6 separate regions of the Homo sapiens genome follow, and regions 1, 2, 4, 5 and 6 are each linked to region 3. Evidence: promoter capture Hi-C in 16 types of primary human blood cells and fetal thymus (Javierre and others, 2016). All regions are on one chromosome and are shown on one strand. Each heading gives the region's core, a stretch centred on a gene start or on the middle of the fragment in contact. The rest is flanking DNA. Distances are from core to core; before and after follow the strand shown.

What was found. Contacts are between HindIII fragments. The CHiCAGO score rates a contact against its expected background, and 5 or more counts as called.
Region 1: a fragment that was not itself captured here is called in contact with the fragment with the promoter of SLFN13 in region 3 in 9 of 17 cell types (total CD4 T cells, activated CD4 T cells, total CD8 T cells and 6 more); the score reaches 7.9 in total CD4 T cells.
Region 2: a contact is called between a fragment that was not itself captured here and the fragment with the promoter of SLFN13 in region 3, in 5 of 17 cell types (total CD8 T cells, total CD4 T cells, activated CD4 T cells and 2 more). The highest score is 10.3, in total CD8 T cells.
Region 4: a fragment that was not itself captured here is called in contact with the fragment with the promoter of SLFN13 in region 3 in 5 of 17 cell types (non-activated CD4 T cells, activated CD4 T cells, naive CD4 T cells and 2 more); the score reaches 5.7 in non-activated CD4 T cells.
Region 5: a fragment that was not itself captured here is called in contact with the fragment with the promoter of SLFN13 in region 3 in 3 of 17 cell types (naive CD8 T cells, total CD8 T cells and activated CD4 T cells); the score reaches 6.9 in naive CD8 T cells.
Region 6: a contact is called between a fragment that was not itself captured here and the fragment with the promoter of SLFN13 in region 3, in 5 of 17 cell types (non-activated CD4 T cells, naive CD8 T cells, naive CD4 T cells and 2 more). The highest score is 8.3, in non-activated CD4 T cells.

Annotation. Positions count from the first base shown.
Region 1 is chr17:35,307,126-35,312,054 of GRCh38, reverse strand. No RefSeq gene overlaps it. Among named protein-coding and RNA genes, the nearest start is that of SLFN11, 64 kb to the left of the region's middle. RefSeq lists an enhancer at 1-368. The HindIII fragment of the contact is 3,855 bases long and covers 216-4,070 here.
Region 2 is chr17:35,257,814-35,262,694 of GRCh38, reverse strand. It overlaps SLFN5 (schlafen family member 5), which reads right to left. Exons shown (of 5, transcript NM_144975.4): 2 at 2,993-4,044; 3 at 1,599-1,724. The coding sequence starts at 4,004. Among named protein-coding and RNA genes, the nearest start is that of SLFN5, 17 kb to the right of the region's middle. RefSeq lists an enhancer at 4,783-4,881. The HindIII fragment of the contact is 4,399 bases long and covers 155-4,553 here.
Region 3 is chr17:35,447,516-35,450,570 of GRCh38, reverse strand. It overlaps SLFN13 (schlafen family member 13), which reads left to right and starts at 1,805. Exons shown (of 6, transcript NM_144682.6): 1 at 1,805-1,849. RefSeq lists enhancers at 490-989, 890-1,099, 990-1,491, 2,370-2,529 and a silencer at 1,720-1,799. The HindIII fragment of the contact is 16,320 bases long and covers 1-3,055 here.
Region 4 is chr17:35,205,244-35,210,044 of GRCh38, reverse strand. No RefSeq gene overlaps it. Among named protein-coding and RNA genes, the nearest start is that of SLC35G3, 13 kb to the right of the region's middle. The HindIII fragment of the contact is 4,854 bases long and covers 1-3,913 here.
Region 5 is chr17:35,224,358-35,229,250 of GRCh38, reverse strand. No RefSeq gene overlaps it. Among named protein-coding and RNA genes, the nearest start is that of SLFN5, 16 kb to the left of the region's middle. The HindIII fragment of the contact is 1,350 bases long and covers 1,692-3,041 here.
Region 6 is chr17:35,280,497-35,285,058 of GRCh38, reverse strand. No RefSeq gene overlaps it. Among named protein-coding and RNA genes, the nearest start is that of SLFN5, 40 kb to the right of the region's middle. The HindIII fragment of the contact is 2,291 bases long and covers 292-2,582 here.

The DNA.
Region 1 (4,929 bases), core at 894-3,393, 140 kb after region 3:
CATAGTCACCAGAGTATCCAAAGTCAATACTAAAGAAAAAATGTTAAACGACACCTAGAGAAAAATGTCAGATCACTTACAAGGGAACCCCATTAGGCTAACAATGGACTTCTCAGCAGAAACCTTACAAATGAGAAGAGATTGAGTACTTATTTTCAGTATTCTCAAATAAAAGGAAGTCCAACCAGGAATTTGATGTCTTCCCAAACTAAGCTTCATAAACAAAGAAGAAATAAAATATTTTCCAGGCAAGCAATTGTTAAAGGACCTTATTTTTTACCACTAGACTAGCATTACGAGATATCCTAAGAGAGTTTTAAATATGGAAATGAAAGAATGATGCCTGCTACCACAAAAGCACACTTAAGTATTATACATAGTTCACAGACCTTATAAAGCAACTACACAAATCGGGACTACAAAGAAACCAGCTAACAACATCACAACAGGATTAAAAACCTCACATATAAATATTAACGTTGAATGTAAATGGTCTAAATGTTCCACTTAAAAGGCACAGAGTGGAAATTGGACAAAGAGGAGCTAGAGAAAGAGATAGGGGTAAAAAGTTTATTCAAAGGGATAATAACAGAGAACATCCCAAACCCAGAGAAAGAAATCAATATCCAATTACAAGAAGGTTATAGAACACAAAGCAGATTTAACCTAAAGAAGACTACTTCAAGGCACGTAATAATCAAATTTCCAAAGCTCAAGGTTAAAGAAAAGCTCCCAAAAGCAGCAAAAGAAAAGAAAAAAATAATATGCAATGGAATCCCAATAAGTGTGGCAGCAGACATTTCAACCTTACAGGCCAGGAGAGAGCTGGCATGACATATTTAAAGTGCTGAAGGAAAAAAACACCCACCCTAGAATAGTATATCAGGTGAAAAATCCTTCAAACATGAAGGAGAAATAAGACTTTCCGAGACATACAGAAACAGGGATTTCATAAACGCCAGACCAGTCCTACAAGAGATGTGAAAGGCAGTACTTCAATCAGAAATAAAGACATTAATGAATGAGAAAAAATAATCTGAAGGTACAAATCTCATTGGCAATAGAAAGTACACAGAAAAACACAGAATAGTATAGCACTGTAACTGTGCCGTGTAAACTACTCTTATCTTAAATAGAAAGATTAAATGATAAACAAATATAGTAAAAACCAACTTTTCAAGACATAGTCAGTACAATAAGATGAATAAAAACAACAAAAAGTTAATTTTTTTTGAGACAGGGTCTTGCTCTTTCACCCAGGCTGGAGTGCACCGGTGTGATCTTGGCTCACTGAAACCTCTGTTTCTCAGGCTCAAGTGATCCTCCCACCTCAGCCTCCTGACTAGCTGGGACTACAGGCATGCACCACCATACCTGAGTGGTTTTTCTATTTTAAATAGAGATGAGGTTTTGCCATGTTGCCCAGGCTGGTCTCAAACTCCTGGGCTCAAGCAATCTGCCCATCTAGGCCTCTGAAAGTTCTGGAATTATAAACATGAGCCACTGCACCTGGCCAAAAGTTTTGTCTTGTAATCTATTTTGTCTGACACAAGTATAGCTACTCCTGCTCTTTTTTGGTTTCCATTAGCATAGAATATCTTTTTCCATCCCTTTATTTTCGGCCTATGTGTATCTGTATGGGTGAAACATGTTTCTTATAGGCAACAGATCATTGAGTCTTGCTTTTTATTTATTTATTTATTTATTATATATTTATTTATTTTATTATACTTTAAGTTCTGGGATACATGTGCAGAATGTGGAGTTTTGTTACATAGGTATACATGTGCCATGGTGGTTTGCTGCACCCATCAACCCATCACCTACATTAGGTACTTCTACTAATGCTATCCCTCCCCTATGCCCCCACCCCCTGACAGGCCCTGGTGTGTGATGTTCCCCTCCCTGTGTCCATGTGTTTTCATTGTTCAGCTTCCACTATGAGTGAGAACATGTGGTGTTTGGTTTTCTGTTCTTGTGTTAGTTTGCTGAGAATGATGGTTTCCAGCTTCATCCATGTCCCTACAAAGGACATGAACTCTTCATTTTTTATGGCTGCATAGTATTCCATGGTGTATATGTGCCACATTTTCTTTATCCAATCTATCATTGATGGGCATTTGGGTTGGTTCCAGGTCTTTGCTATTGTGAATAATGCTGCAATAAACATACGAGTGCATGTGTCTTTATAGTAGAATGATTTATAATCCTTTGGGTATATACCCAGTAATGGGATTGCTGGGTCAAATGGTATTTCTGGTTCTAGATCCTTGAGGAATCGCCACACTGTCCTCCACAATGGTTGAACTAATTTATGCTCCCACCAACAGTGTAAAAGCGCTCCTATTTCTCCACATCCTCTCCAGCATCTGTTGTTTCCTGGCTTTTTAATGATTGCCATTCTAACCAGCATGAGATGGTATCTCATTGTGGTTTTGATTTGCATTTCTCTAATGCCCAGTGCTGAGCTTTTTTTTCATACATTTGTTGGCTACATAAATGTCTTCTTTTGAGAAGTGTCTGTTCATATCTTTCGCCCATTTTTTGATGGGTTTTTTTTTCTTGTACATTTGTTTCAGTTCCTTGTAGAGTCTGTATATCAACCCTTTGTCAGACGGATAGATTGCAAAAATTTTCTCCCATTCTGTAGGTTGCCTGTTACTCTGACAATAATTTCTCTTGCTGTGCAGAAGCTCTTTAGTTTAATTAGATCTCATTTGTCAATTTTCGCTTTTGTTGCCATTGCTTTTGGTGTTTTAGTCATGAAGTCTTTGCCCATGCCTATGTCCTGAATGGTATTGCCTAGGTTTTCTTCTAGGGTTTTTATGGTTTTAGGTTTTATATTTAAGTCTTTAATCCATCTTGAGTTAATTTTTGCATAAGGTGTAAGGAAGGAGTGCAGATTCAGGTTTCTGCATATGGCTAGCCAGTTTTCCCAACACCAGTTATTAAAGAGGGAATCATTTCCCCATTGCTTGTTTTATCAGGTTGGTCAAAGATCAGATGGATGTAGATGTGTAACGTTATTTCTGAGGCATCTGTTCTGTTTCATTTGTCTATATATCTGTTTTGTCACCAGTACAATGCTGTTTTCATTACTGTACCTTTATAGTGTAGTTTGAAGTCAGGTAGTGTGATGCCTCCAGCTTTGTTCTTTTTGCTTAGGATTGTCTTAGCTATATGGGCTCTCTTTTGGTTCAATATGAAATTTAAAGTAGTTTTTTCTAATTCTATGAGGAAAGTCAATGGTAGCTTGATGGGGATAGCATTGAATCTATGAATTACTTTGGGCAGTATGGCTATTTTTATGATATTGAATCTTCCTATCCATGAGCATGGAATGTTTTTCCATTTGTTTGTGTCCTCTCATTTCCTTGAGCAGTGGTTTGTAGTTCTCATTGAAGAGGTCCTTCACATCCCTTGTAAGTTGTATTCTTAGGTATTTTATTCTTGTTGTAGTGATTGTGAATGGGAGTTCATATGATTTGGCTCTCTGTTTGTCTATTATTAGTGTATAGGAATGTTTGTGATCTTTGCACATTGATTTTGTATCCTGAGACTTTGCTGAAATTGTTTATCAGCTTAAGGAGATTTAGGGTTGAGACCATGGGGTTTTCTAAATATACAATCATGTCATCTGCAAACAGAGAGAGTTTGACTTCCTCTCTTCCTATTTGAATATGCTTTATTTCTTTTTCTTGCCTGATTGTCCTGGCCAGACTTCCAATACTATGTTGAATAGGAGTAGTGAGACAGGGCATCTTTTTCTTGTGCTGGTTTTCAAAGGGAATTCTTCCAGTTTTTGCCCATTCAGTATGATATTGGCTGTGGGTTTGTGATAAATAGCTCTTATTATTTTGAGATATGTTTTATCAGTCCTAGTTTATTGAGAGTTTTTAGCATGAAGGGGTGTTGAATTTTATTGAAGACCTTTTCTGCATTTATGGAGATAATCATGTGTTTTTTGTCATTGGTTCTGTTTATGTGATGAATTATGATTATTGATTTGTGTTTATTGAACTAGCCTTGCATCTGAGGGATGAAGCTGACAAGATCGTGGTGGATAAGCTTTTTGATGTGCTGCTGGATTCTGTTTGCCAGTATTTTATTGAGGATTTTAGCATCGATGTTCATCTGGGATATTGGCCTGAAATTTTCTTTTTTTGTTGTGTCTCTGTCAGGTTTTGGTATCAGGATGATGCTGACCTCATAAAATGAGTTAGGGAGGATTCCTTCTTTTTCTATTGTTTGGAATACTTTTAGAAGAAATGGTACCAACTCCTCTTTGTACCTCTGGTAGAATTCAGCTGTGAATCTGTCTAGTCCTGGGCTTTTAGTGGTTGGTAGGCTATTAATTACTGCCTCAATTTCAGAACTTGTTATTGGTCTATTCAGGGATTCAACTTCTTCCTGGTTTAGTCTTCAGAGGGCATATGTGTCCAGGAATTTACCCATTTCTTCTAGATTTTCTAGTTTATTTGCACAGAGGTGTTTATAGTATTCTCTGATGGTAGTTTGCATTTCTGTGGGATCGGTGGTGATATCCCCTTTATCATTTTTTATTGTGTCTATTTGATTCTTCTCTCTTTTCTTCTTTATTAGTCTGGCTAGCCATCTATCTATTTTGTTAATCTTTTCAAAAAACCAGCTCCTAGATTTGTAATGCCAAAGGTTCTTGCCTTAGCCACGCCAAAGATTTGGTGTGGCGGCAGCTCGTGGTGAGAGAGAGACAAGGATTGGACTGAGAGAAAAAAAGCTATAGGCTTTATTAAGCAGAGTGACAGTACAAAGCTTCTACAGCATGGAAGGAGTCCCGAGCGGGTAGCCAGTGTTAGATTTTTTGATCACCTCTTAGAGTCTTTAAGGTGAGAAATACATGCAGAGGGAAGATGTTACCAGAGCGAGAAACAAAGACAATTAACATGTCTC
Region 2 (4,881 bases), core at 1,105-3,604, 190 kb after region 3:
GACAGAGTTTCACCATGTTGCCTAGGCTGGTCTTGAACTCCTGGGCTCAAGTGATCCTCCCACCTCGGTCTCCTAAAGTGCCAGGATTACAGGTGTGAGCCACCTCACCCGGCCATCTTTTTTTCTTTTTGATAGGATAAAATGATTCTAAGCTTCTTCCAGAAGAGAAATGCCGTGATAATACCATGTTGGTTGGTCAAAGTGTATTTGGGTATATGTTTTAGCTTACAATCTGGCAATATCCATCTAAAGTTACAAGTAATTATTACTACTTGGAATTTTTTTTTCTTTTCCTTTTCTTTTTTTTTTTTTTTTGAGATGGAGTCTCCCTCTGTCGCCCAGGCTGGAGTGCAGTGGTGCCATCTTGGCTCACTGCAACCTCCGCCTCCAGGGTTCAAGCGATTCTCCTGTCTCAGCCTCCCGAGGAGCTGGGACCACAGGCGCATGCCACCACACCCAGCTAATTTTTTGTATTTTTAGTAGAGACAGGGTTTCACTGTGTTAGCCAGGATGGTCTCGATCTCTTGACCTTGTGATCCGCCTGCATTGGCCTCCCAAAGCTCTGGGATTACAGGCCTGAGCCACTGTGCCTGGCCACTACTTGGAATTTATCCTTAAAGAACACCTCAGGTATATTATGGTAAAATGTATATTATAGCATTGTTTAAAAATGAAAAAATTAGACGTCATATAAAAGTCCATCAAAAAAATGATTGGGCTGGGCGCAGTGGCTCATGCCTGTAATCCCAGCACTTTGGGAGGCCGAGGTGGGTGTATTACCTGACGTCAGAAGTTTAAGACCAGCCTGGCCAACATGGTGAAACCCTGTCTCTACTGAAAATGCAAAAAAAATTAGCTGGGTGTGGTGGCATGCGCCTCTAATTCCAGCTACCTGAGAGGCTGAGGCAGAAGAACTGCTTGAACCCGGGAGGTGAAGGTTGCAATGAGCCAAAGTTTCACCGTTGCACTCCAGCCTGGGCAACAAGAGCGAAACTTCATCTCAAAAAAAAAAAAAAAAAGACTGGTGGCTTGGCGTGGTGGCTCATGCCTGTAATCCCAGCACTTTGGGAAGCTCAGGTGGAAGGATCGCTTGAGTCCAGGAGCTTGAAACCAACCTGGGCAACACAGGGAGACTCCATCTCTACAAAAGTTAAAAAATTAGCCTGGCATAGTAGAGTGCTGCTACTTTGTAGAGATGGGGTCTTGCTATGTTGCCCAGGCTGGTCTCAAATTCCTGGACTTAAGCAATTCCACACCTCACCCTCCCAAAGTGCTGGGATTACAGGTATGAGCCACTGTGCCCAGTCTTTTCACTTTCTTTAAGGTATATTTTGAGGAACAGTTCTTAATTTTAATGTAGTAAAATTTATCAGTCTTTTTAAGTTTGATCCTTTTGTGTCTGGTTTAGGAAATGCTTTCCTACCCCAATGATACAATTATTCATATACACTTTCTACTAAAAGTTTTAAAGGTTTGGCTTTCATATTTAAGTCCTTAAACCTCTGGAATTGATTCTGTATATAATATAAAGTAGGAGTCAATTTTTTATATGAATGAACAATCAACATATTCCAAAGCAACCAGAGATGGCCAATTACCTGGAAAGTAGCGTTTCTGCTGCTCTTTCAGACATTCCGAATTCTTATGAATGCACACAGGCTTGCTGCGGGGCGTGGCAGATGACAAACTCAACTGGAGAACCATCTCAGGACACCTGGAAAGGTCTTAGGAAACAAGAACCAAGGATTCAATATGCAAAAAGGCAGACCCCAACTTATAGCTGAGCTGTGCTACAAAGTCTTTCACCTAGTCTTACAACTCAAGCCACGGCCCACAGATACTTGCCTTTACATCTCAGGTCAGCTCAGGAAAGCCTACTGAGGTTTTTGAAGGAAAAAATAACCTAGCATAAAGCAACACTTTTTAATTTTATTATGTCAAAACAAAACTATTTTTATTTCTATTATTTATTTATTTATTTATTGAAACAGTCTCACTCTGTTGCCCAGGCTGGAGTGCAGTGGCATGATCTCACCTCACTGCAACCTCCGTCTCTCAGGTTCAAGCAATCCTCCTGAGCAGCTGGGATTACAGGCGTGCGTCACCACATCCAGCTAATTTTTTGTATTTTTGGTAGAGACGGAGTTTCACCATGTTGGCCAGGCTGGTCTCAAACTCCTGACCTCAGGTGATCTGCCCCCCTCGGCCTCCCAAAGTGCTGGAGTTACAGGCATGAGCCACCGTGCCCAGACTGTTTTTATATTTTTAGAATGCTACTTTTTAAAGAAAAATGATGAGAAGATGCAAAGGCCAATGGATATAGACACCTGAGCAGATTCTGAGGTGGACTTTGTTTTTTCTGGACCTTTGAAGAAGTTACTATTGGTTTTCTCTGTCTAATTTTATCTCAGGCTTTCCTTTTCCAGGATAGATGCATGTCACCAACCATCCTCTGGCTTATCACGTACCGGCTCCCCAAAGGAAAAATGGGAAAGCAGAGCGAAAGCCGTGATTTGGTCATATTTTGGTTCAAAAAATGGAAGTGGGCAGTGAGAAAGGGTGAATATTTAAGAAGGGAAAGTCAGAGGAAAGTGGCAGTAAATTAAAGTGGACACATCTGTACATGTGAAAAAAAGAAATTTCCTAAATAATTAAATGCAAGCTCATAATTGAAAAATAAGAGGCTTGACTATGAACATAAGAAAGGATGTGAAAATTGAAATAACTAGGTCAAACAGCCCCCTGCACCAGCCTTTAATGGGGCTACTAGCCAGGGCATCTGTTGAATGAAGACTATTTAAGATGGCAGAAGAAAGGAAGGGCAATAATCCACGAACTACATCTACAGGGATTAATAAGTCAGACAATTGCAAATCAGAGAGTAAATCTCTTTCCCCAGATTCCAAGGAATACCATATCCCTCTTTCCTCTCTGACCCGCCCTGCCTTGCTGCCAGCAAACATTACAACCATTGTGGATATTGCTCCCTAACCTGGGTCAGCTTCCATCATCCAAGCAGTCCATTCTCTTGTGGGCAATTGTCTCACACGGTTGTCCTTCACCTGCCAGGAACTAGGCACTTTGGCAAACACCGCACAGCAGAATTTCTCCACCTTGATTGCACAGACATATCCACGGAGGGCCCCCTTATCATGCACTTCAAGGAAGTTAAGGACATATTTTATCTCAGGCCTCTGTGTGCAGAAATGATGGACAGGTAGCTTCTTAATACAGCCATCAATAGAAGCCCTCAAGCTCGTAAGGTCTATTTTCTCTTTTTCACATCCAATCACTTGACAAGTCTCATCATGCACACCAAAAAATACATATCCTCCTTCAGTATTTGCAAATGCAGAAACACACTTCGGAAGTCTGTCTTTAACACAGTGTGACACGTCTGTCGAGAACATTACAAATTCAACATGTGTGGACTCAGGAAGGTTGAGTTTTTCCAGATACTGAAGCCGCTTTCTATCAAATAAAGCAGCAGCTGACACATTTATGTTACCTTCATATTGTACACTACCCTGAGCTGCCTGTGGACCTAATGAATTGGAAACATTAATATTCGTTGGAGTCTGAGTCCTGCATTTGAGGAATGCCAGAGCTTCCTGAGAATCCATGACATCGGTGGATGTTCTCTCTCTGTGGTACAAATTGGAGCATAAGGTAGCAAGTGGCACACCAGCCTCTGTGTTCCATGATTTCACAAAAATCAAAAAGTGGTTTTCCTTCTGCATCTTATCTAAATGGCTTCTGAAAATTGGAGGCACATCCAATCCTACTCCATGACGTTCATAATTGTAGCCTTTGTTCTCAATCTCAGCCTTGATTATGCCCCCACCAGAATTCAGCAGAGCACATACTGCTCGCAGGATGATTTCATTCTGTTTCTCCCGCAGGCGAGGGTCCATCTCCTGCCTCTGCTGAGTCCCAAGGGTGACTTTTCCTGCATCTACAACACACTCAGGAAAGTTTGTATCCACATCAATCCTAAGACTCATCTTCTCAGCACTTGGCCTATTCCTATCCTGAAATGTTCTCCTGAAAAACAGAAAGATAGAACCATTAGAACAGGACAAGAATAGGAGAGGCAGGAAAACCAACAGATTAAGGCCATCCTACTGAGGTTGGTCCCTTCATTTATTCCTGATATGATTTGACTGTGTCCCCACCCAAATCTCATCTTGAATTGTAGCTCCCATAATTCCCACATGTTGTAGGAGGAAGCCGGTGGGAGATAATTGAGTCATGGGGGGCAGTTTCCCCCATTTTGTTCTCATGGTAGTGAATAAGTCTCACGAGGTCTGATGGTTTCATAAAGGGTTTCCCCTTTCACTTGGCTTTCATTTCTATCTTGCCTGCCTCCATGTAAGACGTGCCTTTCACCGTCCACCGTGATTGTCAGGACTCCCCAGCCATGTGGAACTGTGAGTCCATTAAACCTCTTTTTCTTTATAAATTAGTCTCAGGTATGTCTTTAACAGCAGTGTGAAAATGGATGAATGAAATTCCCACATAGCTTGAGGTCAGATTTATACATGAATTAAGCTTGTAAGGTGAGTTGAGGAGCTGAGTCTGCTGGAAGCACACCACCACCACAGAAATGACCAACAGGTTATATTTATGCTGTGTATTTAGTAACTATCTGCCAAGTTCTCAAAGTGGCAGAGTCTCGCAGGTCACCTGCAGAAAATAGAAAATTTTACATTGATATTTGTGGACTGGAGCTGGAAAGCAATGAGAAAGCTTTCGTGGTCAGAAGTATCTCTGGGGTGTGCTAATATTTATTGTTTTTCTTGATTCTTTGTCTTTCTCCTCTCCCTGAGACTTGGGCAATTTTCAGATTATTTTGTAGCCTAATATTGGGAGGGGACACAT
Region 3 (3,055 bases), core at 556-3,055:
ACTAAAAATGCAAAAATTAGCAGGGCCTGGTAGCGGGCGCCTGTAATCCTAGCTACTCGGGAGGCTGAGGAAGGAGAATCGCTTGAACCTGGGAGGCGGAGGTTGCAGTGAGCTGAGATCGCGCCATTGCACTCCAGCCTGGGCAACAAGAGCGAGACTCCATCTGAGAAACAAACAAACAAACAAACAAAAAACAAAAAAACACGTTAATAGTTTTTGTAAAGATCTGCTGGTGACAAATTTCCTAAGATTTTTTTTTTTTTTTTGGTCTGAATACGTCGTTATTTTGCCTCCATTTTGGAGGACTTGTTTTGTTTTGTTTTTGGTGGTTATAGAATTCTAGATTGACAGCCTTTTTTTTTTTTCCAGCGCTTTACAGATGTATAGTTCTGGATTCAGTACAGGTTTGCACAATCTATAAACCGCATTTTAAAGAAAAATGAAAAAACTGGAATATGATTATATGAAGATTTACTGAAATGGAAAGGTGGAAGTCATTGAAAAAAGCAGATTAAGAAGAGTACATACAGTGTGACTTTGTATTAATAAAAAAGTATTACATATATGTTTGTGTAATATATATGTATGATCCGTAAAGATATGTACAATAGGGTGTTAATAGTGGTCAGTGGTAATCTCTGGGGCGAAGGGGGGGTGGTATTGGAGTACGTTTTATTTTCTCACTTTAGCCTCCACTGGAGCGTATATTAATCACCCCGGTGTTAACCGCCGCTCCCACCCTTGGGCCAGTCCGCGTCAGTGAGAACTTGGCCGATGCGCGGTGCTTGGTCAACCCCGGTAACCGTCACACTGCTCGTGTTACAAGAAAACCAGCCAGGGTTCTGCTTTTCTGCTCTGCCGCAGCCTTTAACACCTGCCAGGGTTCTGTCCGAGTGTATGGGTTTCGTAGTCCTCCTCTCCAAGGCGTTGACTGAGCACAGAGCACCGGCCGCCGCCACATCCCACTCTGGCGCGGGGTCTGCGGAGCCACAAATCCAGCCAGGAACCGAGTGCCGCCCGATCCGAGCATCCGTCGCATTTTGACCTGGGGTTCCCGGGTCTCAAGGCCCACTTTCTGGGGCAGGCAGTGGGGAGAGAAGCCCAAGCTGGGGTATGGGCAGTTGCAGTGCGGTGGAAGGGGAAAGCTCGGGCGAGAGCTTGGCTGGACCCTCAGAGGAGGGGTCCGGGGAAGGCGGGACCGCAGGCTCCGGGAAAGGAGAGAGAGATAGGGACGGAGGAGGGGCGGAGGGGGAGTAAGAAAGAACTAAGAACCACTCGAAAGCAATCAGAAAACTTGGCGTTTCCAGACATTTTTTTTTTTTTTTGTAGGGGGAACAGGCTCTCACTCTGTCGCCCAAGCTGGAGTGCAGTGGTGCGATCTCGACTCACTTTACCCTGGACTTCCTCGGGCTCAAGTGATCCTCCAGCCTCAGCCTCCCGGGCATCTGAGACTACATTTGAGTCTACAGGCGCGCGCCACTAAGCCTGAGTAATTTTGTTGTTGTTGTTGTTGTTGTTGTTGTTGTACAGACGGGGGTCCCACTGTGCTGTCCAGGCTGGTCTCGAACTTCTTGGCTCAAGCGATGAACCCGCTTAGGCCTCCCAAAGTGCTGGGATTTCATAGGCGCGAGCCTCCCGCCAGGCCTTCTAGACAGCGTGGCAAAGTGTTCCCGGGCTTTGTAGACACTCCCATTGGCGCGTCCATGCCCTGCCTGGGACCCATTGGTTCGTTCATCCCCTGTGTGGGACCTGCCCAGGTAGGCGCCAACCATTGGTTATAAGAACCTGACCTTGGCGCCTCCAGGGAAACGCGGAGTGTCCTGGAGCTTGACGCGCTGGAGCTTGAGAGGTAAGAGAGGGTCCCTGCTCCTACGGGGACTGCGGAGCTCCCGTTTGTACCCACGCCCTAGGGTCTAGTCCGGCACGACCCTGGACTGGCGTTGACTCGGATGGGGAGCAAGCTAGGAGAGCAACCCCCGCCCCCCAGCTCCGGCCAGCCGGTGGAGTCGGGGTATTTGCGTGCTTCTCCCCTGCCTTTGGGGTTCGGCTAGTTTGCTGAGCAAATTCCCTAAAAGGCTATGAGGACTTGATCGCGGCGCGGGTGGAGGCGGGGCGGTGGGGAGGGACGGTGCGGAGAGCTAAAGGGGTTGGAAGGTGTCGCCGGCGGCTTGGCGGGCTATCTGTGTTCCTGTTCCGGCTGCAAAACAGAAAGCCCCTGCCCAGCGAGCAGCGGTTTCCGCGGGGGCGGAACAAACAGGCAGAGCCAAGTGCGTCCTGGAGGCTTCCCCCGTTGCGAAGGTTGGGACTCTTGTTTCAGGGTTCTTGGCATTGACTCACTAACCACTGTAAATTATTGTTCTTAATCTAAGAGTTAAAAAGCAGAATTAGGCCGGGTGTGGTGGCTCATGCCTGTAGCTTCAGCACTTTGAAAGGCCAAGTGGGAGGATTACTTGAGCCCAGGATTTCGAGACCAGCCTGGGCAATGTAGGGAGACCCTATCGCTATGAATAATAATAATAATAATAATATAATACTAATATTAATAAATTAACCGGGCCTGGTGGCGCGCACCTGTGGTTCCAGCTTCTCCGGAGGCTGAGGCAAAAATCGCCTGAGCCTGTGATGGCGCCACTGCCCTCCAGCCTGGACAACACAGGAAGACATTGTATCAAAACAAAAACAAAACAAAACAAAACAAAACAACAAAACAGAATTAGAATTGCCATTACCCTGTACCCATTATCCTGATTACCCTGCAATCTAGAAAGGGGAGAAATGAGAAAAATGTCTCCCTCCCAACGTCTGTAAAATACAGAGCTGCTATCTGAGAAGGACAAAGAGCTCTGTGTTTTATTTTCCCAAGAGGGAGCCTCTGTCGCAGCTGTTTCCTTCTGTTTCTGCCTGAGACTAGCCAGTCCCCACCAGTTTTCCTCAGTGGGGTGGGGGGCTTGGGAGTGGATGGGAGGATTTGTGTTGTTCTGATTTTACCTACAGTATACCTGTGTAGGAGGCGAAACTGTTTCCATCAATTTCCACAGAGAAGCAAGGGCAAGAA
Region 4 (4,801 bases), core at 237-2,736, 240 kb after region 3:
GGTTTTTGGCTACATGGATGAATTATATGATAATAATGTCTGGGCTTTTAGTGCGACCATCACCTGAATAGTGTACATTGTACTCAGTAGGTGATTTTTAAATTCCACATTCCCCTCTCAACTTTCCCACCTTCTGAGGCTTCAGTGTCCATTATACCAATCTACATACCTTTGCGTACCCATAGCTTAGCTCCCACTTACAAGTAAGAACATGCAGTATTTGATTTTCTGTTCCTGAGTTACTTCGCTTAGGATAATGACCTCTGGTTCTATGCAAGTTGCTGCAAAATACATTATTTTCCTCTTTTTATGGCTGCATAGTATTCCATGGTGTGTATTTGTGTGTGTATGTGTGTGCGTGTATATACACAGCACATTTTCTTTATCCACTCATCAGTTGATGGATGCAGTGTGGTTTTAATATTAGCCATTCTGATAGGTCTATGGTGACATCTCATTATAATTTTATTTTGCATTTCCCTGATGACTAGTAAGATGACTGAGTTTCATATATTTATTGGCTCCTTTTATAAGGTGTCTGTCTGTACAAGTAGTTTGCTTTTCTTTTCTTTTTTTTTTTTTTTTGAGACAGGATCTCCCTTTGTTGCCCAGGCTGGAGCACAGTGGTGCAAATCTGGCTCACTGCAGTCTCAACCTCCTGAAATCAAGCAATTTTCCTGCCTCAGCCTCCTGTGTAGCTGGGAAACACAGGCACATGCCACCGTGCCTGGCTAATTTTTTTATTTTTTGTAGAGATGGAGTCTCAATTTGTTGACCAGGCTAGGACAAGTTCTTTATTGATTAAATGTTTAGCAATCTTTTTCCACTCTGTGGCTGACTTTATTACTGTCTTAATAGTGTCTTCTCATGAATTGAAGTCTTAATAGTGTCTTCTCATGAATTGAAGCTCCTATTTAATAAAGTTGTCCAATTTATCAACATTTTTGTTTATGGTTAGTGTTTCTATGTCTCATTTAAGAAATACCTGCCTACTCCAACTCATGAAGATAGTCTCTAGTGTTATCTTCTAGAATATTTCCTTTTTATTTTTTTAAACTCTCTAGCCCTATGTCATAAGAATATTTCTGGTTTTACTTTTCACATTTAGATCTCTAATCCACCTGATGTTTGAGTGTGTTGTGGGGGAGGGGTTAAGTTTAATTTTTTTCCATATGGATAGCTAGTTGACCCAATATCATTTGTTGAAAAGTGCACCCCTTCCCCTCTGTTCTGTAGTGTGATCTTCGTCATAAGTCAAGTGTACCTATATGTGTCGGTCTATTTCTGAATTCTCTCTTCTGTTTCATTGGTCTATTTTCCTATTCTTTTGCTGACATCACACCATCTTAATAACTATGACCTTATATTGATACTCACTGTTAGTCTTCCAACTTATTCTTGTTTTCTTTTCTTTTTAATTAAAAAAAAATTGTGGAAATGGAGATTCACTACGTTTCTCAGGCTGGTCTCGAACTCCTGGCCTCAGGCAATACCTCCTGCCTCAGCCTCCCAAAGTGTTGGGATTACAAGCGTGAGCCACCATGCCTGGCCAAACTTTATTCTCCTCCAAGATGGTCATTGCTATTCTTGACTCTTTGGCTTTTCATAAATATTTTACAAATAATTTATCAATCTCTGTCCCACCAAAAGCCTCAAAGTTGTATTGGGCTTTCATGGAATCTATATATCACTTTGGGGAGAATTTATAGCTTTATAATGTTGTCATCCAATCCAGGAATTTGGTAATATCTCTCTATTTATATGAGTTTTCTTTTATTTTTGTAAATAATATTTTATAGTTAGGATTCTTAAACATCTTTCACAATTTATCTCTAGGCATTGATGTTTTATGATATTATAATGGCACCATCTTTAAAAACTCAACTTCCTAACTGTTATAGGTATGTAGAAACACAATTGATTTTTGTAAATGGACTTTGTATCTAAATTCACTTATTGGTTCTAATAGTTTGTAGCTGTCAGATTTTTTACATGTACAATCCTGTCATGTGAACAATTAAAAAGTTTTATTTCTAAGTTTTCAATTTTATGCTTTTCTTTTTTTCTTCTTTTTTTATTGTAAATTGACAATTTATAATTGTATAGATTGATGGGTTCTGTGAAGAGGGAGTTGCGTGGGGAAAAAATTTATGGGGTACAAAATGATGTTACGATTTATGAATGCAATGTGAAATAATTAAATCAAACTAGTTAACATTTCCATCACCTCAAATACTTAACTTTTTTTGTGGCAAGAACATTTGAAATTTACTTAGCAATTTTGAAACGTACAACACTCTACTATTAACTATATTCACCATGCTGTGCAATAGAATGCACAAAAAGAAAAATCATGTTCTGCCTGTCTGAAATACCCTTTGACCATCACCTCCCCATTTCCCCATCTTCCAGCTTCTGTCACCACCATTCTACTCTCCACTTCTATAAGTTCATTGTTTTAAATTCCACATATAACGGAGAACATGTGGTATTTGTCTTTCTGGGCCTGACTTATTTCACTTAGCATAATGTTCTTCAATTCCATCAATGCTGTCACAAATTTCAGAATTTCCTTCTCTCTCTCTCTCTCTCTTTTGAGATGGAGTCTCACTCACTCCGTCACCCGGGCTGGAGTGCAGTGGCGTGATCTCTGTTCACCGAAACCTCTGCCTCCCAGGTTCAAGCCATTCCCCTGCCTCAGCCTCCCAAGTAGCTGGGATTGCAGGCATATGCCACCACACCCAGCTAATTTTTGTATTTTTAGTAGAGACAGGGTTTCACCGTGTTGTTCAGGCTGGTCTCAAACTCCTGACCTCAAGTGCTCCACCCACCAAAAGTGTTGGACTTACAGGTGTGAGCCATTGTACCCAGCCAGAATTTCCTTCTTTTTAAAGGCTGAATAGTATTCCATTGTATATATGCACTACATTTTTTTAAAATCCATTTGTCTGTTGATGGGCAGAGGTTGATTCCATTACTTGGATGTTGTGCATAGTATTGCAATGAACATAGGAGTGCAGATATCCCTTCAACAAACTGATTTTGAGTCTTTTGCATTAATACCCTGAAGAGGGACTTCTAAATCATATGATAATTCTATTTTTAGTTTGGTTTTTTTTTATTTTTTGGGCGGAGGGATCTCCATACTGTTTTCCATAATGGCTGCACCGATTTACATTTCCACCAACAGTGTACAAATGTTTCCTTTGCTCTACATCCTCACCAACACTTATCTTTTGTTTTTTCATTTGAAAACACTCTGTTTTGAAATAAAGTACAGGATGATTAAAAACATAATAATAAGCATTCTGACAGGTGAAAGATTATATCTCATTGTGGTTTTAATTTGCATTTCTCTAATGATTAGTGATGCTGAGCATTTTTTCATTATCTGTTGGCTATTTGCATGTCTTCTTTTGAGAAATGTTTTTATCACTGGAATGCAAGGATCAATAAATGTGACATGCCACAGTAACAGAATGAAAGACAAAAACCATATAATCATTTATTAGATGCCAAAAATCATTCAATAAAATTTAATATCCTTTTATGATAAAAACTCTCTCTTATCTTCCATTCCCTAGGCAGAGAGTCAGAGCAAGAGAGAGCAAGAGAGAGAGAGAAAGATGACAAAAAAAAAGTTCACCAAATTAGATGTAGAAAGCATATATCTCTTTGAGGATAACCCTGAGTGCAAATTTTTTAAAAAGAAATGTAACTCAGCACAATAAAAGTCATTTATGAGAAGCCCACAGCTAACATTACACTCAAGGCCCTTCGTGTAAGATCTGCAACAAGACAAGGATTTCTACTGTTTTAGTCTGTTTGTGTTGCTCAACAAAATACCTGAGCCCAGGTAATTTATAAAGCAATGAGGTTTATTTGGCTTATGTTTCTGCAGGCTGTACAAGCTTCTGGTAAGGGCCTCAGGAAGCTTCCACACATGGTGGAAGATGAAGGGGAGCCAGAATGTGCAGATTACATGGTGAGAGAGTGGAAGCAAGAGAGAGGGGCAGGAGGGGCCAGGATCTTTTCAACAATCAGCTCATGGATGAGCACAGTGGCTCATGCCTGTAATCCCAGCACTTTGGGAGCACAAGATGGGAGGATCACTTCAGCCCAAGAATTTAATTAAGACCAACCAGCCTGGGCAAAAAAGTGAGACTCCATCTCTACAAAAAATCAAAAAATTAACCAGTCACGGTGGTGTGTGCCTGTGGTCCAAACTACATGGGAGACTGAGGTGGGAGGATTGCTTGAGCCCAGGAGGTCAAGACTGCAGTGAGTTATGCTCATGCCACTGCACTCCAGCCTCGGCAACAGAATGAGACACTGTCTTAAAAAAAAGAAAAGTGAATTTATAAACAAAATTTTAAAAAATCAGCTCTTGTAAAAACTAAGAGTGAGAACTGACTCATTATTGCAAAGATAACACTAACCTATTCATAAGGGATCTGTCCCATTATCCAAACACCTCCCACCAGGCCCCACCTTTAACAATGGGAATCAAATTATAAAATGAGACTTGGTAGTCAAACAAATCATATCAAACCATAGCACCTACTCTCCCACTTCTGTTCAACATGGGATTGAAGTTCTTTCTAGAGCAATTAGGCAAGAAAAAGAAATAAAAGGCATCCAAATAGGAAAAGAAATGAAATTGCCAATGTTTGTTGATGGCATGATCTTATATATGGAAAATCCTATAGACTTTAGCAAAATAGTTGTTAGGACTAATATGTGAATACAGTAAAGTTGCAAGATACAAAATCAACACACAAAAAAATCAGCAGCTTGCTTT
Region 5 (4,893 bases), core at 1,117-3,616, 220 kb after region 3:
AAAACCTCATATCTATTAAAAATACAAAAATTAGCTGGCCTTGGTGGGGCACTTGTAGTCTCAGCTACTCAGGAGGCTGAAGTGGGAGGATCGCTTGAGCCTGGGAGGTCGAGACTGCAGTGAGCTGTGATCATGCCACTGCACTCCAGCCTGGGTGACAGAGTAAGACCCCATCTCAAAAAATAATAAGAAGAAAATAAAATTTTGGCTAGATTTCCTTCCTTTTTTTCTGGGAGGGTTTTGAGCTTTCTTATGTTAGATTATTATGTACTTGATAGCCTCTTGAAGCTACTGAAAATAGGAGATCTATACAGTTTAAGGAACTATATGGGCTTTACTTTCTATTACATCTGAAGGTGTATTATCTCATCTAATTTGAAAGGTGCTTCTTTCCCTTGTCACCCTTCATATGTTCATATGAATCCTCCAGGAACACATAGACTCTAGACATACATTGTTTCAATCAAAAAGGTTGAAGCCTCTTTTGGGGCCGGTTTAAGAATCTTCACATTCTAATTTCTATTGTACTTTAACAGGCTCAAGCCTTACAAAGAAAGAAAGTTTGCTCATCTCTTACCACAATAAAAATCTAACTTGATCCACTCTCAAGCTTAGAAAGCTTTATTTCAGAAGACAGAATTGCAATAGTTCTATCTCTAATTTAAGTGAGAGCAGGGTCTGGGCACAGCGGCTCACACCTGTAATCCCAGTACTTTGGAGGTCGAGGCAGGCAGATTGCTTGAGGCCAAGAGTTCAAGACCAGCCTGGGCAACATGGCAAAACCCTGTCTCCACAAAAATTTAGCCAGGCATAGTAGTGTGCACCTGTGGTCCCAGCTACTTGGGAGGCCGAGGTGACAGAATCACTTGAACCTGAGAGGCGGAGGTTGTAGGGAGCCGAGATTCTGCCACTGTACTCCAGCCTGGGTGACAGAGTGAGACCCTGTCTCAAAAAAAAAGAAAAAAAAATTAAGTGAGAGCAGCTTCCACCTATCCTATGGACCCAGGACAAAGTGACATCTGTCAAAAGCCATAAGACAACAGACAAAAACAAAAATCAATGTTTTAATTTTCCAGTGACCCTGATTTTAAGCAAAACTAATTATTTAGCAACAGAGTTCAAAGCTGGCCAGCACTAGACAGCAGTGACAGGTAACCCTCCTACCTCCCCACCCCAGCATCGCTATTTTTACTTATTCAGATTTAGGCTTCAATTGGAGTTACCACCTGTATTCATTTCCTAAGCCTACCATAACAACATACCATAAAATCGGTGGCCTAAAACAGCAGAAATTTATTTTCTTTGTTCTGGAAGCTAGAAGTCTGAAATCAAGTTGTCAGTAGGGCTCTTCTCCCTGAGACTCTCAGTAGAATCCTCTCTTACCTCTGCCCAGTGGTGGCCATCAATCCTCCATGTTCCTTGGCTTGCAGCTGTGTCACTCCGATCTCTGCCACCATCACTATGTGGCCTTCTCCCTGTGTGTGTCTCTCTTCACACCATCTCCCTTCTTATAAAGACATGAGTCATATTGGATTAAGAGCTTACTCTACTCCAATGTGACCTCATCTTAACTAATTACTTCTACAGTAACCCTGTTTCTTTTATTTTCCTTTTTTTTTTTTTTTGAGATGGAGTCTTGCTCTGTCACCCAGGCTGGAGTGCAGTGGCGTGATCTAGGCTCACTGCAAGCTTTGCCTCCCAGGTTCACGCCATTCTCCTGCCTCAGCCTCCCAAGTAGCTGGGACTACAGGTGCCTGCCACCACGCCCGGCTAATTTTTTGTATTTTTCGTAGAGACAGGGTTTCACCGTGTTAGCCATGATGGTCTCGATCTCCCGACCTCGTGATCTGCCTTCCTCGGCCTCCCAAAGTGCTGGGATTACAGGCGTGAGCTACGCGCCCGGCCTACAGTGACCCTATTTCTAAGTAAGGTCACATTCTGGGGTACTAAGTGTTAGGATTCAACATATCTTTTGGGAGAGCACAGTTTAAACCCTAATATCGTCCTTCTCAGTTTTCTTGAATCATTTATTTCATGTTCTCACATTTGTAGGTTTTATTTCCATGCATATTAACAAATGGGAAATATCAACTGTCATCTTCTGGGTTAATAAATGCATGGCCGGGCACAGTGGCTCACGCCTATAATCTCAGCACTTTGGGAGGCTGAGGTGGGCGGATCACCTGAGGTCAAGAGTTCAAGACCAGCCTGACCAACATGGTGAAACCTCATCTCTACTAAAAAATACAAAAATTAGCCAGCCGTGGTGGTGGGCACCTGTAATCCCAGCTACTCGGGAGGCTGAGGCAAGGAGAATTGCTTGAATCCCGGAGGCAGAAGTTGCAGTGAGCCGAGATCACACCACTGCACTCCAGCCTGGGCAACAGAGCGAGACTCCATCTCAAAAAAAAAAAGAAAGAAAGAAATAGAAAGAAATACACAAATATTTATACCTTTATTTTAAAAAGGAGGCTATGTCAATTTAAATATTATTACCTGAGCAAAAAAATCATTACATAAACAACCAAGCAAAATTCGACTTTTTTGGAAGTTACTTTCCCAAAATACAATAACTCATAAATCTGAGTGTCGTATCAAACTAATTTGATAGGAGCTAATGGCAAATACAGTTTGGTGACATGGAAAAGCATCTCATTCTCTGCAGGTGCAAGAAAAAGGAAACTGTCTGTTGTTTCTTGCTTGCTTGCTTGCTTGTCTTGCTGAGTTTTCTTTCACCAGAAGTAGAAGAGTTTAGAGTTTCCAGGCTAAATACTGGAATTTCAATAATTAGCACTCAAAGAGAAACAAAAAGTAGTCTTTCAAATAAAGGCCTACTCAGAACTTCAAATAACTTCAAAATTTCAAAAAATAATATAAGAAAGAAGCAGAATAGTCTTATGTTAAAATGGATTATAAAACATGATATTTGCTACTTATATTTGTCATCCAAATGTTTTATGGTTAATATCAACTTTATCAATTTTTTACTAATTTTGTATTCACTGATAAGTACTTCCACTAGCAATATTAAGAATCAAGCTTTTCAGTTAGAGAAATAATCACATGGCTCACCAAGTAATAAGTAGAAAGGAATTATAATTATGAGTTGAGAAAAGGGTTAAAATTCAATGTAAGTTTTGTAAAGTAATGCAGGAAATAAATTTATAACTTTCAGTATGAATTTGTCTGTAAAACAAAAATTAAAATATTAAGCCTTCTAGGGCTCCTTTGAGGAGTATATGTCATGGTATATACGAAATACCTGGCATATAGTATGTGCTCAATAAACATTAACTTCATTCCGCCCCGTCCTTCATTCAGTGTAATTGAACCTTAAACAGTTGCCTGAAAAGTTCCCATTAATTGGGGATGAAGAAACCCACCCAGGAATTAAGTGCTCATTTCATCCCCTGTATGTGGAAGTGACAAGGCACACAGCACCCTAATTGGTATGGAACTCCACGCTGCCCAAGAACGAGTGTCCCTTAGACCCTGAGCTAACCAGCTGGTGGCAAGGCCCTTGCTTCACACACCCACAGGGTACTCAGTAGCTCCACTGGTAACAAAATTTCCCCAAGTGTCATGGAGGCGCAAGATGCTTAACTGACATGAGACTAAATCTGGTCTTTATGGTTTGAATTTCATTTTAATAATTATTTGTTTTGAAGAATACAAATGTAAAGATCATTTCTATCTTCATGTGAGTCTCAAATTATAATCTTGATTCTATAATAAAAATTTTTAGTTTTCAACTGGCATATTCAACTGGAAATGGGAGTTACCCATTTCCTCTATAATTTCAAATTGACTTTCATATATTAAAACCCATGAGTTCACAATGATACTTGTTTTTAAAAACTTCATGGTTAACCTTCATAAATTCACGCTAGGACATCAGCGCATTGTTTTGAAAACTGATGAAGGGAAGCAATCAAGCCTTTGTACTCCTTTCCTGTATGCATTCTATTTTGGGGCCAAGAAAGAGATGGTAAGGAAAGTCCTTCACAGAAATATTCCCGGTAATAAATTCAGATGGAATTATGGAGTTAGAAAAATCATCATTTTGCAAGACCTAATGAAATCATGGATCTAGGTAACAATCGTCAACTGATGCTGAAACTACCAGGATGGTGGTTTTCAACCTCACCTGCCCCCAAGAGCTGTTACAAGCCTCAGTGTGTAGGCTGCACTCCAGACCAAGTGAATCAGAACGTCTGGGGCGATTGTAATGCTCCCCAGGTGATTCCAGTGTGCAGCCAAGATTGAGGATCACTCACTAGATGAAAGATGCATGGGGAAGTTTATAACAGACAGATCAGACTGAAGAAGGGTGCATGGGGAAGTTTAGAACAGATGGATCAAACTGAAAACACTTCAACCTACACACCGATTCTAACGTTGGTATGAGTGGGACAGCCAGACACTGTGTAAATTAGCACAATGTCTAATACACAGCCCTACCTAGGAGGTGTTCTAGCAAAAGGCTTCTCTCTTACCCCTCAACCCCTTACACACATAATTGAACCTACATGTAGTCAGTCCTTGGGTCTAATTTTCCAGTTTAGATGAAACACAGGCATAGAAGAAGTTAAATGGCACCATGAAGAAGTAATTAGCTGACTCATGAATGTGAGAGATTCAACGGGATAAGTGAATTGGATTTTTCCACAAATAACTGAGGAGGAAAGGCAGAGGGCTAATGTTATAAGTTAAAAGAGACTTAAATTACCTATCAACTAAATGCAATGTGTGAGCCATTTTTGGTAGCTGATTTTTAAAATATGAATTCACCTTAAAAGAAGGAGTCTGATTTAAACAAACAAAATGTTTTTAAAAAAGAAAGGAAGAAAGAAAGAAGAAAAAACTTGTGACAATCAGGAAGTTGTGACTTGG
Region 6 (4,562 bases), core at 188-2,687, 170 kb after region 3:
CTAGTCACAAGGCCTCGGTTGGTAGTTATAGCAGCCTTCTCCCACAACCCTCTCTAAGTTCTGCCTGCCCACCTCAGTTGGATGGGATTCTTTACTGGGTGGGGTTACTTAAACTTTCATTCTCCTGTGGTTTCTAAGTCCGTGGTGATGGCTATCATTTCACCCAAAATACACAAACGTGTATACCCACTTAGATGACTTCCCTTCATCATTGTCTTGCAGTGTTATCCCTGAGTGGAGCTGGAGAGTAAAAGCCATCCACTCTTGTTGAGACCTATGGATCATGAAGCTTCATTTGCAAACCAAGCCCACACCTTTTTGTCCTCCTTTAGCTGGTCATGTGCCCCAAGAGGTCATTGCTGTAAGTGGAGAGAAAGGCAGTGAAGCAGTGGACATTGATCCTATGCAAGTCTGAGCCACCTGCTGTTACAGCTTATTAATTTCTTGCAGACCTATGAGGCCCCAGTCTTACATATATGAGTTCCATTTTATGATGAATTCTGCTGTGTATGATTTAGTGGAAGAGATGACCCCTTTGGATTTGATAAGAGCTCAGGTCACACAGATATTTGTCAGATATTCAGTCTCAACAGGGTCCCACGGGAAGTGAGATACTGATTTCATATGGACAGTACTTGTTGGCAGAAGAGGGCATAGCCTTCCTCCAAAACTCTAGGGATTCTGTTATTGGGGATTTTGGTAGATCTCTGACTTCTGCAGAGTCTCCCACTATCATTAGGTCTGCTGGGTCATTGTGTGCAAATAGTGGGACATGTACACCACAACTTGGACCTGCTAGAGAGAACTTTCCTTCTCTAGCAGTCTTACTGCTTGGCAGAAAATGGATTAGCCTGTCCAAAATCCAGATAAACCAAGCAAGCATGGAGCTTCGTAGGTTATTCTTTCTTTTAGAGATGTTGTTTCAACCTGTCCCAAGGTACCAAACTCCAGAAACACCACTGATGTGACAGGCTCTGGAACCTGTGAAGTTTGTCACCTACCCTCTGGCAGGCATGTATCCAAGGCACACTTGATATACTTCCTCATCAGGTCCAATTAGCATTATGTCATCCCTATGGGATAGCAAAATAATCAAGAGTTGTCCTGATTACATCATGACAGCATGCATTTGAATTGAGGTAGTCATGAAGCAAGATGGCAAACTATCCTCTTGCCCCACCACTTAGATCAAACTGCTTCTCATTTCCTTGTCTTGTAGAAATTGTGTGGGGGAGCAGAGAAGCCAGCAATAGCTGCAAACCAGGTGCCAGGGACTGTATTAACTTGCTCCAGTAAAGATACTGCAACCCAGAAGAGCAGGTGATATTGGCATCACAGCCTGTTTGTGAAAATCACTGGCGTTCTCCATGTCCATCTGCTTTTTCACCAGTCAAAGAGATGGGTCAAGTGAGGATGTGATAGGAATCACTACTTCCGCACCTATTAGGTTGTTGACGGTAGGATTAATCTCTGAAACTCCCCTCAGGAATGTGTGATTGCTATTTTTTTTGAAACAGAGTCTGGCTCTGTTTCCCTGGCTGGAGTACAGTGGTGCCATCTCGGCTTACTGCAGCCTCTGCCTCCCAGGTTCAAGCAATAGACTACAGGCATGCACCACCATGCCCGTCTAAGTTTTTGTGTGTTTTAGTAGAGATGGGATTATTGCCACATTGCCCAGGCTAGTCGCAAACTCCTGAGCTCAGACAATCTGCCCACCTCAGCCTCTCAAAATGTTAGGGTTACATGAGACACCACGCCCGGCCAAGATTGCTATTTTGATGTGGGTGAAGAGTACAATTCTAGGGGCTTCTACTTGGCCCTTCCTAACATAATAACTCTCACTTTTTGGATCTGGAAACTGATGTGGGAATTCTGGCAGTTTCCAATCCTATGTCTACTATACGTTGTCCAGACTCGAGAAATAACCAAAGGACCAGTGATTATCTGGCTCCTTGGGCCCTCCCTCTGCCTGCTGGACCAATGTGGCACTTCAGTCTCTGCCAGAATCAGAGCCAGAATCATTCAGAGCCAGAATCTAGGAATCCCTCGATAGTTCCATTTCCCCAGTACAGAGTCACCCTATTAAATGTCTGCAGGTCCCTCTGATGAAGGACTGAGGGAAGAGTCATAGAATGTGTCTGCAGCCATGTAACAGGATTTTTCTCAAAGGTCTCTTTCCCAAAGAGTTGTAGGATTTTGGATTAGTTTATATTTGGAAACTGGATAAGGGGTTTTGATTCCCCACCATGACAACTAAAGATAGGGTTATGCCCAGTATATCTGGGATTTTTCTGCCTATGTATGTCAAGCCACATTTTAGTAGACTGCCCATCTATTTAATTTGTAAGGATGCCATGATCATCACTATGGATCCCTCCTGGTCAAAACACTCAGATTACCACTCCAATCCTACGGTTTATTGGGATAATATGTCCATCTTGTCTCGGCTGTTCAATAACGACTGCAACCTGGCTTCTACCACTGCAGGATTCCACTACTTCCGTTTAGATAAGGGAAGCCAGTTCCAGTGCTGCATACCCCACTGTCATTTCTGGCCTATAGAGAACAGCCACCAAAAAGCTTCACAAGGTTACCAGTGCCCACGGCTAGTGAAGCACCCTGGCACAAGATATTAAAGGAGGCATTCACTTTCAGGCTCATGCATTCAGGATCAGTACCGGAGGGTGGGTGCCCGGTTAAATGTTGTATCCTGGGTGTCTTCTTGCCTCCCCCCTCACTCCAGCACTGCTAGTACCTTCCTCTCCAATGCATGTCTTAATTCCTTGGTGATAGGTGCATCCCCTGGGCTTGCTCGGGGATTCTGGCTAGGGGGGTAGTGTCGAAGCGTGTTGCACATAGTAGCTCCATTTCAATATTCTCACATCCCTGAGTCTTTGAGCTCCTTCTAGAACAATGCCTCTCAAACTGTAACATATAATGTGCATATGAAGCACATGGAAATATTGCTAAAATTCTGATTCAGAAGGTCTAGGATGGGGCCCGAGATTCTACATTTTTAAATAGCTCCCAGTGATGCTGCTACAGCAACTCCACATGACACATTTTGAGCAGCAAGTTTCTACCAAATGCCACGTAAGTCAGGGAATCTCAAACTCATTAACTGTAGACCAACATTGAGTCAAGGCATCAGCAAGCCAAAATCAGTTGGCCAAATCTAGCAGAGTATCAACTACTCCCAAGCCAACACATTCAATCCCTATTGAGCGTCAATGCTTTCAGCTAGATCAAGCCTTTATTTCATTCTCCTTCATCTACATCTTTAGTATGCATTCCCATACTTGCCTCCCAGGTCCTGCCAATACACACAAATGAGATCTGGAACATTTTTGTGTACAAGCTCCCTCTTCAAGAACAGGCCTTTATTTCTGCATCTGGACTATGTTGAGATCTAACTCTTTTTTTTATATATACTTTAAGTTTTAGGGTACATGTGCATAACGTGCAGGTTTGTTACATATGTATACGTGTGCCATGTTGGTGTGCTGCACCCATTAACTTGTCATTTAACATTAGGTATATCTCCTAATGCTCTCCCTCCCCCCTCCCCCCACCGTACAACAGGCCCTGGTGTGTGATGTTCCCCTTCCTGTGTCCATGTATTCTCATTGTTCAATTCCCACCTGTGAGTGAGAACATGCAGTGTTTGGTTTTTTGTCCTTGCGATAGTTTGCTGAGAATGATGGTTTCCAGCTTCATCCATGTCCCTACAAAGCACATGAACTCATCCTTTTTAATGGCTGCATCGTGTACCATGGTGTATATGTGCCACATTTTCTTAATCTATCATTGTTGGACATTTGGGTTGGTTCCAAGTCTTTGCTATTGTGAATAGTGCTGCAATAAACATATGTGTGCATGTGTCTTTATAGCAGCATGATTTATAGTCCTTTGGGTATATACCCAGTAATGGGATGGCTGGGTCAAATGGTATTTCTAGTTCTAGATCCCTGAGGAATCGCCACACTGACTTCCACAATGGTTGAACTAGTTTACAGTCCCACCAACAGTGTGAAAGTGTTCCTATTTCTCCACATCCCCTCCAGCACCTGTTGTTTCCTGACTTTTTAATGATCGCCATTCTAACTGGTGTGAGATGATATCTCATTGTGGTTTTGATTTGCATTTCTCTGATGGCCAGTGATGATGAGCATTTTTTCATGTGTCTTTTGGCTGCATAAATGCCTTCTTTTGAGAAGTGTCTGTTCATATCCTTCGCCCACTTGTTGATGGGGTTGTTTGTTTTTGTCTTGTAAATTTGTATGAGTTCATTGTAGATTCTGGATATTAGCCCTTCGTCAGTTGAGTAGATTGCAAAAATTTTCTCCCATTCTGTAGGTTGCCTGTTCACTCTGATGGTAGTTTCTTTTGCTGTGCAGAAGCTCTTTAGTTTAATTAGATCCCATTTGTCAGTTTTGGCTTTTGCTGCCATTGCTTTTGGTGTTTTAGACATGAAGTCCTTGCCCATGCCTATGTCCTGAATGGTATTGCCTAGGTTTTCTTCTAGGGTTTTTATGGCTTTAGGTCTAACATTTAAGTCTTTA